3 separate regions of the Homo sapiens genome follow, and all the other regions are linked to region 1. Evidence: promoter capture Hi-C in human tissues and cell types (Jung and others, 2019). All regions are on one chromosome and are shown on one strand. The core of a region is centred on a gene start or on the middle of the fragment in contact, and the rest is flanking DNA. Distances in the headings are between cores, read along the strand shown.

Evidence for each region. Contacts are between HindIII fragments. The study calls those that stand out against the background at their distance.
Region 2: a fragment that was not itself captured here is called in contact with the fragment with the promoter of RBM23 in region 1 in 1 of the 25 tissues and cell types used here (heart left ventricle).
Region 3: a fragment that was not itself captured here is called in contact with the fragment with the promoter of RBM23 in region 1 in 1 of the 25 tissues and cell types used here (H1 embryonic stem cells).

What each region holds. Positions count from the first base shown.
Region 1 is chr14:22,916,874-22,921,001 of GRCh38, forward strand. RBM23 (RNA binding motif protein 23) reads right to left here and starts at 2,276. Exons shown (of 14, transcript NM_001077351.2): 1 at 2,126-2,276. It overlaps PRMT5-AS1 (PRMT5 antisense RNA 1), which reads left to right and starts at 2,583. Exons shown (of 2, transcript NR_120600.1): 1 at 2,583-4,128. It overlaps PRMT5 (protein arginine methyltransferase 5), which reads right to left. Exons shown (of 17, transcript NM_006109.5): 17 at 3,656-4,128. The coding sequence ends at 4,031. RefSeq lists enhancers at 328-1,092, 1,581-1,750, 1,821-1,930, 2,021-2,090 and a silencer at 2,351-2,650. The HindIII fragment of the contact is 12,061 bases long and covers 1-4,128 here.
Region 2 is chr14:22,516,144-22,520,271 of GRCh38, forward strand. It overlaps TRA, TRAJ27, TRAJ26, TRAJ25 and TRAJ24. Among named protein-coding and RNA genes, the nearest start is that of TRD-AS1, 35 kb to the left of the region's middle. RefSeq lists an enhancer at 1,664-1,773. The HindIII fragment of the contact is 4,026 bases long and covers 1-3,998 here.
Region 3 is chr14:22,625,730-22,629,857 of GRCh38, forward strand. No RefSeq gene overlaps it. Among named protein-coding and RNA genes, the nearest start is that of OR6J1, 17 kb to the right of the region's middle. The HindIII fragment of the contact is 6,013 bases long and covers 1-4,128 here.

The DNA.
Region 1 (4,128 bases), core at 1,026-3,525:
TTTTGTTTTTTTTTGAGAGAGTTTCACTCTTGTTGCCCAGGATGGAGTGCAATGGCGCAATCTCGGCTCACTGCGACCTCCACCTCCCAGGTTCAAGCAATTCTCCTGTCTCAGTCTCCCAAGTAGCTGGGATTACAGGCAGGCACCACCACACCTGGCTAATGTTGTATTTTTAGCAGAGACGGGGTTTCTCCACATTGGTCAGGCTGGTCTCGAACTCCTGACCTCAGGTGATCCGCCTGCCTGGTCCTCCCAAAGGGCTGGGATTACAGACATGAGCCACCGAGCCCGGCCTAAAAAGAAAAGTTTTTTATACTCAAGCTGTTTCAGTCATTTTTGCTGCCAAGTCTACACAAATTTTCTGTTATGAACTATTTTTTACAATCTGCTTTTTCCCCTCCAAATGAAATGCTTGATTTCAAGAACTGCTCATTGTTGAGTGCTAATGCGGGGTAAGAACAACTTAACACACACACTAAAACTTACACTTAAGTTTACAAGCCTCTACAAATAAACCTCTACGTAAAAAGTTTTCACTCAGAAACAAATATATCCGTTTAAGCAAAGCCATATACAACACAATATTTTGAAACTTGCAATCTCACTGGGTTTAGTGTCTTTCTAGATGTGCTAAAAGCAATAAGGTAGCAAACACTATGCATTTTCAGGCTGGTAGTTTTTTCTTTTTTCTTCTTTTTTGTTTTTTTTTTGTATTTTTAGTAGAGACGGGGTTTCGCCGTGTTAGCCAGGATGGTCGCGATCTCCTGACCTCGTGATCCGCCCGCCTCGGCCACCCAAAGTGCTGGGATTACAGGCGTGAGCCACTGCACCCGGCCCAGGTTGGTAGTTTTCAAACGCTCTCTTCATGTCCCAACTTATGGGTCAAGGTCCACTCAATCTCATCCACATAGAGTATGTTTTCTTCCATCCTGCTCCAAAAACAGTATTAGAGACCCACAATCACGTCAGTTCCTAGACCTCGTCATAGCACAAGCCAACAGATAGACCCCACTGCTAAAGGAGCAGAGAGAACCACTGTCAGACCAATTCGGGAAGAATTCACGAAAAGCTGGAGCCCCAGGGGTGATGGTAGCGCCATCCCCAGGGTCTGATCACTTAGCTGGGCACAAACACCTACAAACTGAAGGCAGCTTAACAAAAGAGGAACAATGAGAACGATAAAAGCTACTTGAAGGACCACCCTCCCCATGTTGTGTAGCTTTAAAAAATGGTCCTATAGGCCGGGCGCGGTGGCTCACGCCTGTAATCCCAGCACTTTGGGAGGCCGAGGCGGGTGGATCACCTGAGGTCAGGAGTTCGAGGTCAGCCTGGCTAACATGGCAAAACCCCATCTCTATTAAAAATACAAAAATTAGCCGGGCGTTGTGGCAGGCGCCTGTAATCCCAGCTACTCGGGAGGCTGAGGCAGGGGAATCGCTAGAACCCGGGAGACAGGATGCAGTGAGCCGAGATCGCGCCACTCCACTCCAGCCTGGGTGACAAAGCGACACTCCGCCTTAAAAAAATAAAAAAAAAGAGGTCCTATAGGCAACCAACTGGCACAATCTCTGCGGGAGCCAGTGTCCCAGGGCTCAATCTTCATATGTGGCATCATAATACGCCTACTGGAATGAGTGCTTGAAAAAGTTAAATGGGAAAAGCCCATAAAGGTCAACATAGTGAACATGAATCTTCGACAGACTAGAGATTGAGGAAGAAAGCTCAATTCCCTTCTCTCTCTCTGAATGGTGGTGCGAGTGGCTGAAACTGATGATGCGTGTCCTCTCAGGCCGCGGAGGGTCGATGCTCCCTCTCCAGTGTGGGCGACCCTAAGTGTCACGGCTGCAGAGACCCGGAAAGAAAAATCACAGGATTCTAGAAACCGCATCTTTATCGGTGCAAGATACAGCCACGAGGGTGCCCAACTCTAAAATCGTGGCAGTGGGCTACATTTAAGTAGCTAACACTTCCAGGTCAAAACAAACAAAGGTTTTTTTAATGTTAAAAGTTCGCCTGAATCTCTTCGTGACGCCATTTTCTGCCCGTGACGTCAGGGGGGAGGCGCCGTGCAGCAACGTCACGCATTGGTGACGTCTGGTGGGGACCGGGTTTTGGGGTTTCTCACCAGTTCCGGGTCCCCGCAGGGGGGTCCCGGTTCTCTCCGTTCCTTTGAGTATGTTGTGGGGAGTGGAGCTCGGATAGTTCCTAGAGTCTAGGCAAGAAAAGCAGCACTGCAGGTACAGAGCCTCCTCTTCCCGCAAAATGGCGGCAGCTCTGCCGTCTTCCAGAACCTTCCCCAATCTGCGCATGCGCCAAGACTCCCCGGCTTTGGAAATAACCTCACTGGTTTCGCGGCAACCGTCCAAAGTACAGGTTCTCATTGGCTAAAGTCCTAAGTATGGGTGGAGCAAACTCAAATGCGTCTTAGCAACCACCGAGTTCCCATTGATTGGCTAACCTCAGAGACTCCAGAAAATGGAAGCGTCCTTTGGTAGCCGCCCATCACTCTCTCATTGGTTAAATGACTTGCGGAGGGCGGGGAAAACGGGACTGAAAACGGGAGTGAAGAAGCCACCAACCCCACTCCTGGTGCTCGCGTAGACTAGACCAGTGCGATGGGCGGAGCCAACGAGGAGGCACAATTTACATCCTTGGCCGTCCCTACTCGGATTTGCTGAAGGAGTCACGTCGGTCGTTAAGGTTAAGCTTTGTAGAGAACAGCGGCGTTTGTTTAACGTCCGGGGATGCTGAACTCGAAATCCCCGTTCTGAGCCGGCTACCTAAACAACCTTCCCGACCACCTCTCCTGACCTCGGTGCTTGGGACCAGGGAAAAGCAGATCTTGCCACAGACTTGTCTTGGCCCACACTCTGCCCTATCGTCATGGCCTGCTCCCACAGGTCATAACTTCCGTTCAAATCAGTACCCCCACATTTCCCACTGCAAGGGTAAATTTGAAAGTTTCTCAGGTGACTCCTTGGATGTAGCAGTACTGAGTCCTCTAACCGGAAAGAAGGAACTGATGTCCACCCTCACTTTCCAGGGGCCTCCAGGAGCCCCTAGACACTTCTGTGGTCTACTGTAGCTACCAAAAATGTAGCTGGTTATAACATGGGGAGAGCCAGAGTCGGAGGACCTGACTTCCAATTCTGACTTGGATACTAATATCACATCATTGTACCCATTTCAAACTCCCCCTCTGTAAAATGGAAAATTGGACTAGATGATCTCTTAGGACTTCAAACTGTAACCCTGTGGTTTTATTCAAAAAAAACAGGTAGCTTCTTGCTGGAGATTCCTGGATGGATTCCAGTCTTCCCAAGAGGTAACAAAGGAGAGGTAACCAGTTGCCCGTGCAGTAGCTCAAGAATACAGAAGAGAAACTGGCTTCACTCACTATTCCATCTTTTTCCAAGGTGGCAAACTCTATGCCTCCTCCCCAGAGAAAAGCCTAACTGTAGGTTCTAATGGACAAGAGCTCACTGTAGCTGGTCAGAAAGGCCTATATCCAGGACTACAATAGTCATTGCTCAGCTTCCTAAGTAGGGAATACAACTAGGCCCCTTTGGGTCTTGGATAGGCTAAGAGGACAGATCTGAACATGCCTGGGTCTAAGTGAGGTGTGGGAAAATAGTGGCAGGGGGCAGCATGGTCGTGCAGTAAAGGGCTATAACTTTATTTGTATTTCCTCTTACACAAAACCATCAAAACAAGAACAGAAAAAGGCTGAAAATCCGTTCAAACCCCATGTTCTCAGGGATATTCCAGGGAGTTCTTGAGGCTGAGTGCGTAGCTTCAAATCCAGCACTAATTCCTCACCCCCTGGCCTGAGGTCTTCATAGATTGGTGGCTTGAGCCCTGCAATTAATTATAATCCCTTGCCCACCTTGATGTAAGGCAGGAAAGCAGATTGAAATGCTCCTCTCTGATGGGCAAGGGGAATCACAGCCCATAGATGTACTGCACCTTCTGTACTACAGGAGCAGAACCTGAAGCTGCTTCCAAGGCTCTGGACACTTGGCACGCAGGGCTAGAGGCCAATGGTATATGAGCGGCCTGTGGGGTTATGAATAGCAGAACAGACTGGTGCTGTCACAGCCCACTCATACCACACCTTCTTGGAATTGC
Region 2 (4,128 bases), core at 736-3,235, 400 kb before region 1:
TAATTATAAGGAGGTTGTTTTGGCCATGGGCAGTCATCTCAGGTTTTGTTTTCCTGCTTTCCTCCCTAACCTCCACCTGTCTTCCTAGAGGCCTGAGTCAAGGTTATTGCAATAGCACTAAAGACTGTGTAACACCAATGCAGGCAAATCAACCTTTGGGGATGGGACTACGCTCACTGTGAAGCCAAGTAAGTTGTGTTCTTCTTTGCCTAGGCCTTCAGGGGCAATCAATCAAACCATTAGTTTGAAAAAGACTTTAATCCTATGCATCTGGTTGGGCTCTTTATTAATGTTCTTTCCCCAGGCCAAAGAGAGTTGGTTCTCTTCCCTGCTTTAAAATGAGATATGAGTGCATGTATGCACACACGCATGCCCACATGCAGACTCTTGCTCTAGCTCATGGTAAGGGCTTCTCAGGAGCATATACAACATTTTGAAAGAAATAGAGAAACAAACAATAATGAGCCAATGGAGCTGTCAGGAAGGTTCTCCACCACCCCTGACCAGGCTTCCCAGCAGGATCTCTGGCCATATAGGATGTGCTTGCACTATATCGGATGGTCTAGGATGGGAAATATCTCTCTGTAATTAATTCCAAAATTTGGCAACCCTTATTGCCAGAAAGTACTTCTCATATCTAAGTTTGATCTCCCTGCTGCGATTTAAATATCTACTTGAAAAGAACCACTAGAACTCTGTACATCTGGATTGAGAATCAAGTAACTGCCATAGAATATGAGGCTGAGCACTAAGCCCACCTCTGCAGCACCTCTGACGTGTCATGGGTCCCCTCTGGACATTTTGAGCTCAAGTAATAATGGATTAAGCAGGATAGCACAAGCTTTGGAAACAGAAAAACCTGAATTCAAGTCCTTGCTCCACTACTTACCTAGCTGTGTGACCTTGAACAAGTTACTTAATCTCTCTGAGCCTCAGTTTCCCCATCCACAAAATGAAGATAAAAATATTCCTACCTCGTTGAGTCATCGTAAAGATGAAATAATACAGCTAAAGTAGTTAGCATAGTGCTCAGAACATAGAAAAAGCTCATTAAACCCTCGCTATTAATAATAATGATAAACATCATCTCTAACCCACAGCAGAGCCTTTGTTTGGCCCCTGGGGCTCTTCTGTCAAGGTTCTGTTGTGCATCAGCAGCAGAGCTGGAATTGGGGGGAGGGTGGAGAATGTCAGCCTGTTCTATGAAATTCTTCACCTGGGATTTGAAAGTGGAAATACAAAGAATCCTGACTAATTTAAATACAAAATCATCCAAGTGTCAGAGGCAGGGGAGAGGTTTCTGCAGAGAGCTGCATAGCTGGGATCCTCAAGGCTACACACACACGCTTGGAGCAGGGATGCGGTTCACAGGATGGCAGGGCAAAGGTTGCAGAACTGAAACCTTGTACTTCCCCATCACCAAAATGACCCCAGCATGATTTCCTTTAAGGTGTCCCGAGCCCCTTCCCAAAAGACAGGCTCCCCATGTGGAGGGGCAATGACAGAGGGAAGATGGAAACTTTATGGGAAGGGCGATCTATCCCAAGGTTGTCCTTCTCCTCTTCAGGGTAGTGAAGCTCATGAGAAATATGGCTCCTGAAAATAGCCACTAAATGAAACTCTCCAACCTGGAGGTAGAGGATCAGTAAAGTCTGCAGAGGCAAAATGAGGCAGTTTATTTCAAAGAAAAGAGGTTGAGGGCAAGGTGGGAGTTAAGTCACACATCTAAATCTGGGAAAGGAAGCATTAAACAGAAGACGGAGGGGCTCGGCTCTCCACCTCCACCAGGATTCAGACCACAGGACATGGCTAATACTGCAAGAAGGGAGTTAGGTTAGTGGTAAAACCTTTCTAATAGGTTTTTGAACAGTGAAAATGAGCTGTCAGGAGTAGTTGCCAGGGCACTTTCTCTAGAGAGTTTTTGAAAGGAGATAGACACCCTGCTATCAGAGGTGATTGGAGTGCAGCCCTGCCTCGAGGCAGGAGGAGAAATGAGAGAACCTCTTAAAGCCTCTTTCCAGCCCCCAGAGCCTGTCTCCATGAAAAAGGCCCAGGCTCATTAATGCAGAGCTGCATCCTCCAGGACACAGGGGGTTGCTGGGTTGTTAAGTTTGGAACCTTTGCCGGCTTAGTGGTTACCAAACTCCCTTTGTTCTCAAGACTTGACTTGATAAATGGGCTGGCTTTATCCCTTTAAAGCCAAAAACACAGGTTCTGAGTGCTGTGTTGTTTGTGGTGTTGAGATGCCCAGGCTGGAGGGAGGAAGCTCTAGGGGGTTTTTGCTGAGCCCAGAAACACTGTGGGGATAACTATGGTCAGAATTTTGTCTTTGGTCCCGGAACCAGATTGTCCGTGCTGCCCTGTAAGTACAGTTAAGTGGAGATAGAAAATGAGTCCAGTGCTTGATGTGGGGAGAAGCTGCAGGGTCTTGAGGCCAGGAGTCCACCGTGACCTCAGGAGTGGTGATGGAGAAGAAGGTTAAAAAAGGAATGAGAAACAGAACCATAAGGACAATACAGAGGAAGGGTTCATTTTCGGGAAGGAAAATCACAAGGCCGTGTGATTAACGCTGGAGGAAATGCACTCCTTTGGAGGGTCCCTTCTCAGGAGGGCTTTGTGTCGGGGAAAGCTGAGCTGTTAGGTTTTTGATGCTGAGATAATCACTATGCAGAAGGACAAGGCTTCTCCTTTATCTTTGGGAAGGGGACAAGGCTGCTTGTCAAGCCAAGTAAGTGACATATAATTTATATGTGCTGAATATGATTATCTCCAAGAGGAAAACTTGCCCTCTTTTCCACGGGTGCCTCCTTGGGTCAGGAGGACATTAAAGGTGTTGAGCAGACCAAGGCCCAGTACCTCGTCACCTTCTTCATCCTTGAAGGAGCTTTAAGAGGTGTGGAGGGGAAGAAACCCACCAGGACCCCACCAATAAGCCCAGCCTTGAGACCCCTCCACTCTGTCAGACTTGAATAAGAACCATCTGAGAACAAGGTCTTCCTCAGAAGGGGACTCCAGCATAGTCATCCCCATTTGATAGATTTTGAAACTCAGGGCGGGGCAGAGTGGCTCATGCCTGTAATCCCAGCACTTTGGGAAGCTGAGGCAGGTGGATCACTTGAAGGTCAGGAGTTCGAGACCTGCCTGGCCAACATGGTGAAAGCCCGTCTCTACTAAAAATAAAAAAAATTAGCTGGGTGTGGTGGCACGCACCTGTAATCCCAGCTACTCAGAAGGCTGAGGCAGGAGAATCGCTTGAACCCGGGAGGCGGAGGTTGCAGTGAGCCAAGATCATGCCATTGCACTCCAGCCTGGGCAACAAAAGCGAAACTTCATCTCAAACAAACAAACAAGCTCAGGCAAGTAGAGGCCAGTGATTAACACTCTTCCAATAGGAACAGATCCCAAGCAACCTGCAGTAGTTTTTCCAGTAGGCTCGTGAACTCAAAACACCAAGTTATTTAAATGACAGGGCAACCGTTGTGATCAGCTGTCATTTGAGTAGTGCTGAGGACTGGGTCTGACCTTGAGTAAACGCCTAGGCTGGTGGGTTTCTATCCCTGCAGCATCTAAAGCGGACGCCCAGGCTTCACTGACCCCAGCAGTCTGGCTTTCTGCCCTTGCCGCCCAGGAGGTGCAGCTCTTGGCACACACCATCCTTAGTGTCTTGAAAGAAGAGAAATTAAAAGAGAAAGGGGGAAAAGCTTATATCTCATATCATGCAGTTGCCTCATTTTGTAGCAAGATTGTTTCCCCATGAGCAGTTTGTCTTCATTCAGCAGCTGTCTTCTCTGGGGAAGCCATTTTGTAGAGGTGTTTGTCACAGTGTGACAACTGACAGCTGGGGGAAATTCCAGTTTGGAGCAGGGACCCAGGTTGTGGTCACCCCAGGTAAGCCCCATTCCCTGGAGCCTCACCTGCCCTTAGTATTTGGCATGCCCTGCATGCCAAATATTTCTAGCCGAGACTATGAGAAACACATCTGAAAGGAAGCCATTTCCCTGAACAGCAGTACCCAAAGCCATTAAGCAAAAATGAGAGATCAGACTGGTGTTAAATAGAAACGTTTTTGGATAAATAGTAATTCTCATTATTCTCTATCAGTCTCCTGTGTGAATACCCTTATTTCCC
Region 3 (4,128 bases), core at 982-3,481, 290 kb before region 1:
AAAATACAAAAATTAGCCGAGCATGGTGGTTCATACCTGTAATCCCAGCTACTCGGGTGGCTAAGGCAGAATAATTGCTAGAACCAGGGAGGCAGAGGTTGCAGTGAGCCGAGATCCTGCCATTGTACTCCAGCCTGGGTGACAAGAGCAAAACTCTGTCTCAAAAAAAAAAAAAAAACACCAATGAACATATGAGAAGATACTCAACCTCACTAGCAATAGAAGAAATACATAACAATAAGATACTATTTTTTACATGCAGGTTGACAAAAATTTTAAAGATTGACAATAGCTAGTAATGGCAAAAAGTGAAGAAGTTGGATTTTTTATACAATGTTGGTGGGAGAGGAAATTGTTTCCACATTTTTGGAGGCAACTTGGCAGAATTTATCAAAATAATTACTGAAATTTAAAATGGTCCTACACTATTAGCCATAAGTCCTAATAGCAGGAATTTATGCCAAAAAAATTTAGCACCAGTAACAAAATAGAAGAAATGTGTGTTCATTGGTTATAAATGTGACATCTAAAAATGAATTATGGAATTTTATGGGTACTGTAAGCCAAAAATAAAATTCTAAGCACCCCGAACCAACTAAATGGGCCCCTCCTCTCGACCAAGGGCATTCTAAAGTAAACTTGAAACACTAGTTCAGGCCATGATGAGAATGGGTGGTCAGACATGCCTCCTTAAACCTTCCTCCCTTTGGAATTCAGGCACAGCTGACCAGCATTAACATTAAAACAGTCTTATACCTTAAGACAGGCAGCACAGATTCTTGGTAGCAATAAGATAACAATATGCAGACCAAGATAGCAGGCCCTGAAAGAAACCGAGTATTTTGCTCCAAAATATATTGCTTTGACATATTTTGAAATGGCCCTGCAAAGCTGTCTCTTTAAGTCTGATGTTCTCTCTGAAGCCTGCTACCTGAAGACTTCATCTGCATAATAAGAACCTCAGTCTCCACAACCCATCTGAACCCAGACACTCCCTTTTATTAATTCCGGGGCTTTAGATAAACTCTCGGCCAATTGCTAATCAGAAAATCTTTGAATTCACCTTTGACACGGAAGCCCTTCTTCGTCCCCACCCTCCTCAATGCCTCCACCCTCAACCGCCTCCCTGCTTTGAGTTGTCCCGCCTTTCCAGATCAAACCAAGGCACATCTTACATGTACTGGTTGATGTCTTATGTCTCCCTAAAATGTATAAAAACAAGCTGTAGCCTGACCACCTTGGGCATATGTCATCAGGATCTCCTGGGGCTGTGTCACAGGCCGTGGTCACTCACATTTGGCTCAGAATAAATCTCTTCAATTATTCTACAGTTTGACTCTTTCTGTTGACAGTATTGACATGGGAAGATTTTAAAAATCAAGTTGCAGACAATTCATATAACGCTTTCTTTTTTGTAAAACAAAAGTTATATGTGTGAATATGAATGAATATATACATATATAGTATAAGCATCCTAGGCTGGGCAAGGTGGCTCACACCTATAATCCCAGCTACTCAGGAGGCTGAGACAGGAGAATTACTTGAACCCAGGAGGCGGAGATTGCAGTGAGCCAAGATCATGCCACTGCACTCCAGCCTGGGCGACCGAGCGAGACTCCGTCTCAAAAAAAAAAAAAAAAAAAAAAATATATATATATATATATATATATATGTTTAACTAACAATGTTGACTGCTACAGAATGGAATTGGCTGGCAGGACTTTTCATGTTTTACTTTATACACTTCTGTACTGGCTAAAATTTTACAGTGAATGTGGATTTTCATAATTAAAAATATTAAAAACAAAAAAGTTTTCCAAAATTGATTCTAACTTTGGTTTACACCTGTGATGTCAGTTTCGGGAATGAGGCCCCTCAGACAGGAATCAGGTCTGCTCACCTTGTTTTGTAGGGATCCTGAACAAACATACGCCAAAATTGGCAAAGCAGGCGGACGCAAAGAGCATTGGCAGAATGTCTCCCGCCCCTCCTCCAAGCCTCAGGGCTGCGTAATGGCAAGTGCAAATTCAAAATAAGTGGCTTGTTTTTCTCTGCTGAAAATAAAGGAAGAAACTTCTCCCTCTTCCCTTTCCTTACACATTTACCTCAAAAAATATATGAGTTCTTTCTCTGTCTCTTTGAACTATAAATAAAACTTTTTAAATGTTAACTAATCCTCTGAACAGCATTACAACCCAGGAATGTCTTTCTTAAGGACCTGGGAAATATCTCTTTGAAATCATCAAGGAAGATAGCACCTGTATGTCCCAGTCCTGGTGGGAGGGGAGGAACCTCTTGCTCCTAAACTACCTCCTGTTATAAAGATATGTAAAGTTTATTTTTCCTTGTCATAAAGCCAATTAGATAGAACAGATGATTCACCCCAATTACCAAGTGAACTGAGGACAAACTGTGTGTGACAAGTGGGGTTGTCAAGTCCTTTTACTTGAGGACTAGTTGTTGTTTATCTAGAGAAAATGTATGGAATTAATTTTATTAATATGTCTTTATAAAAGGGTGAAATTTCTTTCCGTCTTTGCAATCTTTTTAGAAAATTGCCTGTGATGAGCATTATATTCTGGTTTAATGCTTATTCAATAATAAAACTGTTTTATTTGTTTTCTTTTTTTATTATTATTATACTTTAAGTTTTAGGGTACATGTGCACAACCTTTGTGGGGCAGTTTTCTGGGCTGGGAATAGATTTTGTTTTTAATTCTATTTCCCAACAGCTACAGAGTGTCAGACCCCCTTGTACACCTTCAGAAGCCAAGGCCACCCCCGGCCCCCTAGGTTCTGCCAGCTGCATCCTGGAGAAACTCTCTGGAGCTACTGGGAGAGTAAATGGAGGCCACAGGCAGATGCAGGCTGTGGATGCCACAGATATATTAAAGAATAAAAATCATGTCATAGACTAGAGAGGTCTGTGACACTTTGACATGCTCCCCCAATCCCCAGACTTTCTGGGACTGGACCACTGGCCATCTCTAAGGCTCTGTTTTCTAAGGAGTTTACAGCAGAAGCTACCTCCCACTTGGTCTTGGAACTAGAATGAGTGTAGAATTGGGAGCAAGTACAGACAGCTAAGGCAAAGTGTGCAAGCAGATGAACTTTTCCCTCATGCCCCTTTCCCTGTATCTGAACCCATTACCCTTTCCTGATGCTCACTGCCCCTCAGGGGGTCCTCCTAGTGCCTGCAGGCTTCTTCCTCCTTTCTAAGGGGCTGGACTGCTTTATTTAGTGGGAATACTCCAACCCAAATCCAAGCTAAAATTTACATTTTCAAAAAGGACTTTTGATAACTGCACATATTTTCACTTTATTTAGTAAATACTTACTGAGCATATCTGGTATGTGAAACACTGATGTAGGTTTCTGGGAGAAAGGGTAGGAGACCCCCAAATTAATATCAACCAATCTTCTGCACTGAAGGGGATTTGCTATTTCTTGGGGAAGATGTTACAGGTAGTCAGGCATGAGTGGGGCAGGAGAGGGCTATCCTCCACCAACTAGGAATGTCAGGTGATGGTTCAGGATTTGTCACATTGCCTCTCTAAAAGTGATAAATTGGCAGCCAGGGAGACGCCATTATCCTGAGGGTCCACACCTGTTGCACTGAAGTGTTAATTGAATACAGATGCCAGGAAGAAGCATCTTTTTGGGCATGCATATTAAGAGACAAAATGGCGGAGTATGACCTTCCAGGGGCACTCCACCGGAAAAGGGAAGAAAGCCTCAGTTGGGCGTGGGTACAACTTCCTAAACACAATGTGTGTGCTCACTTCCCAAGGGTAAGGGGGGCACTGCACGTGCAGGCAGCACACCCTAAGGGAAGAATCATGGGAAAGGGGCCAGCCTATAGAGTCCTAGGATCAAGGTTAAACACTGCACTTTACCTCGGTGCCCACTTGGATCTCTTCCAAGCATACTTTCCTTTCTTTGCTGTTCTAAAGCCTTTTTAAATAAACTTCCACCCCTGCTCTGAAACTTCCCATGGTCTCTTTTTCCATCTTATGCCCCTCAGTCAAATTCTTTCTTCTGAGGAGACAAGGATTGAGGTTGCTGCAGACCCGTATGGATTCGCCTCTGGTAGCCTGGATGCCTTCCACTGCTAACATATTTGGTGCT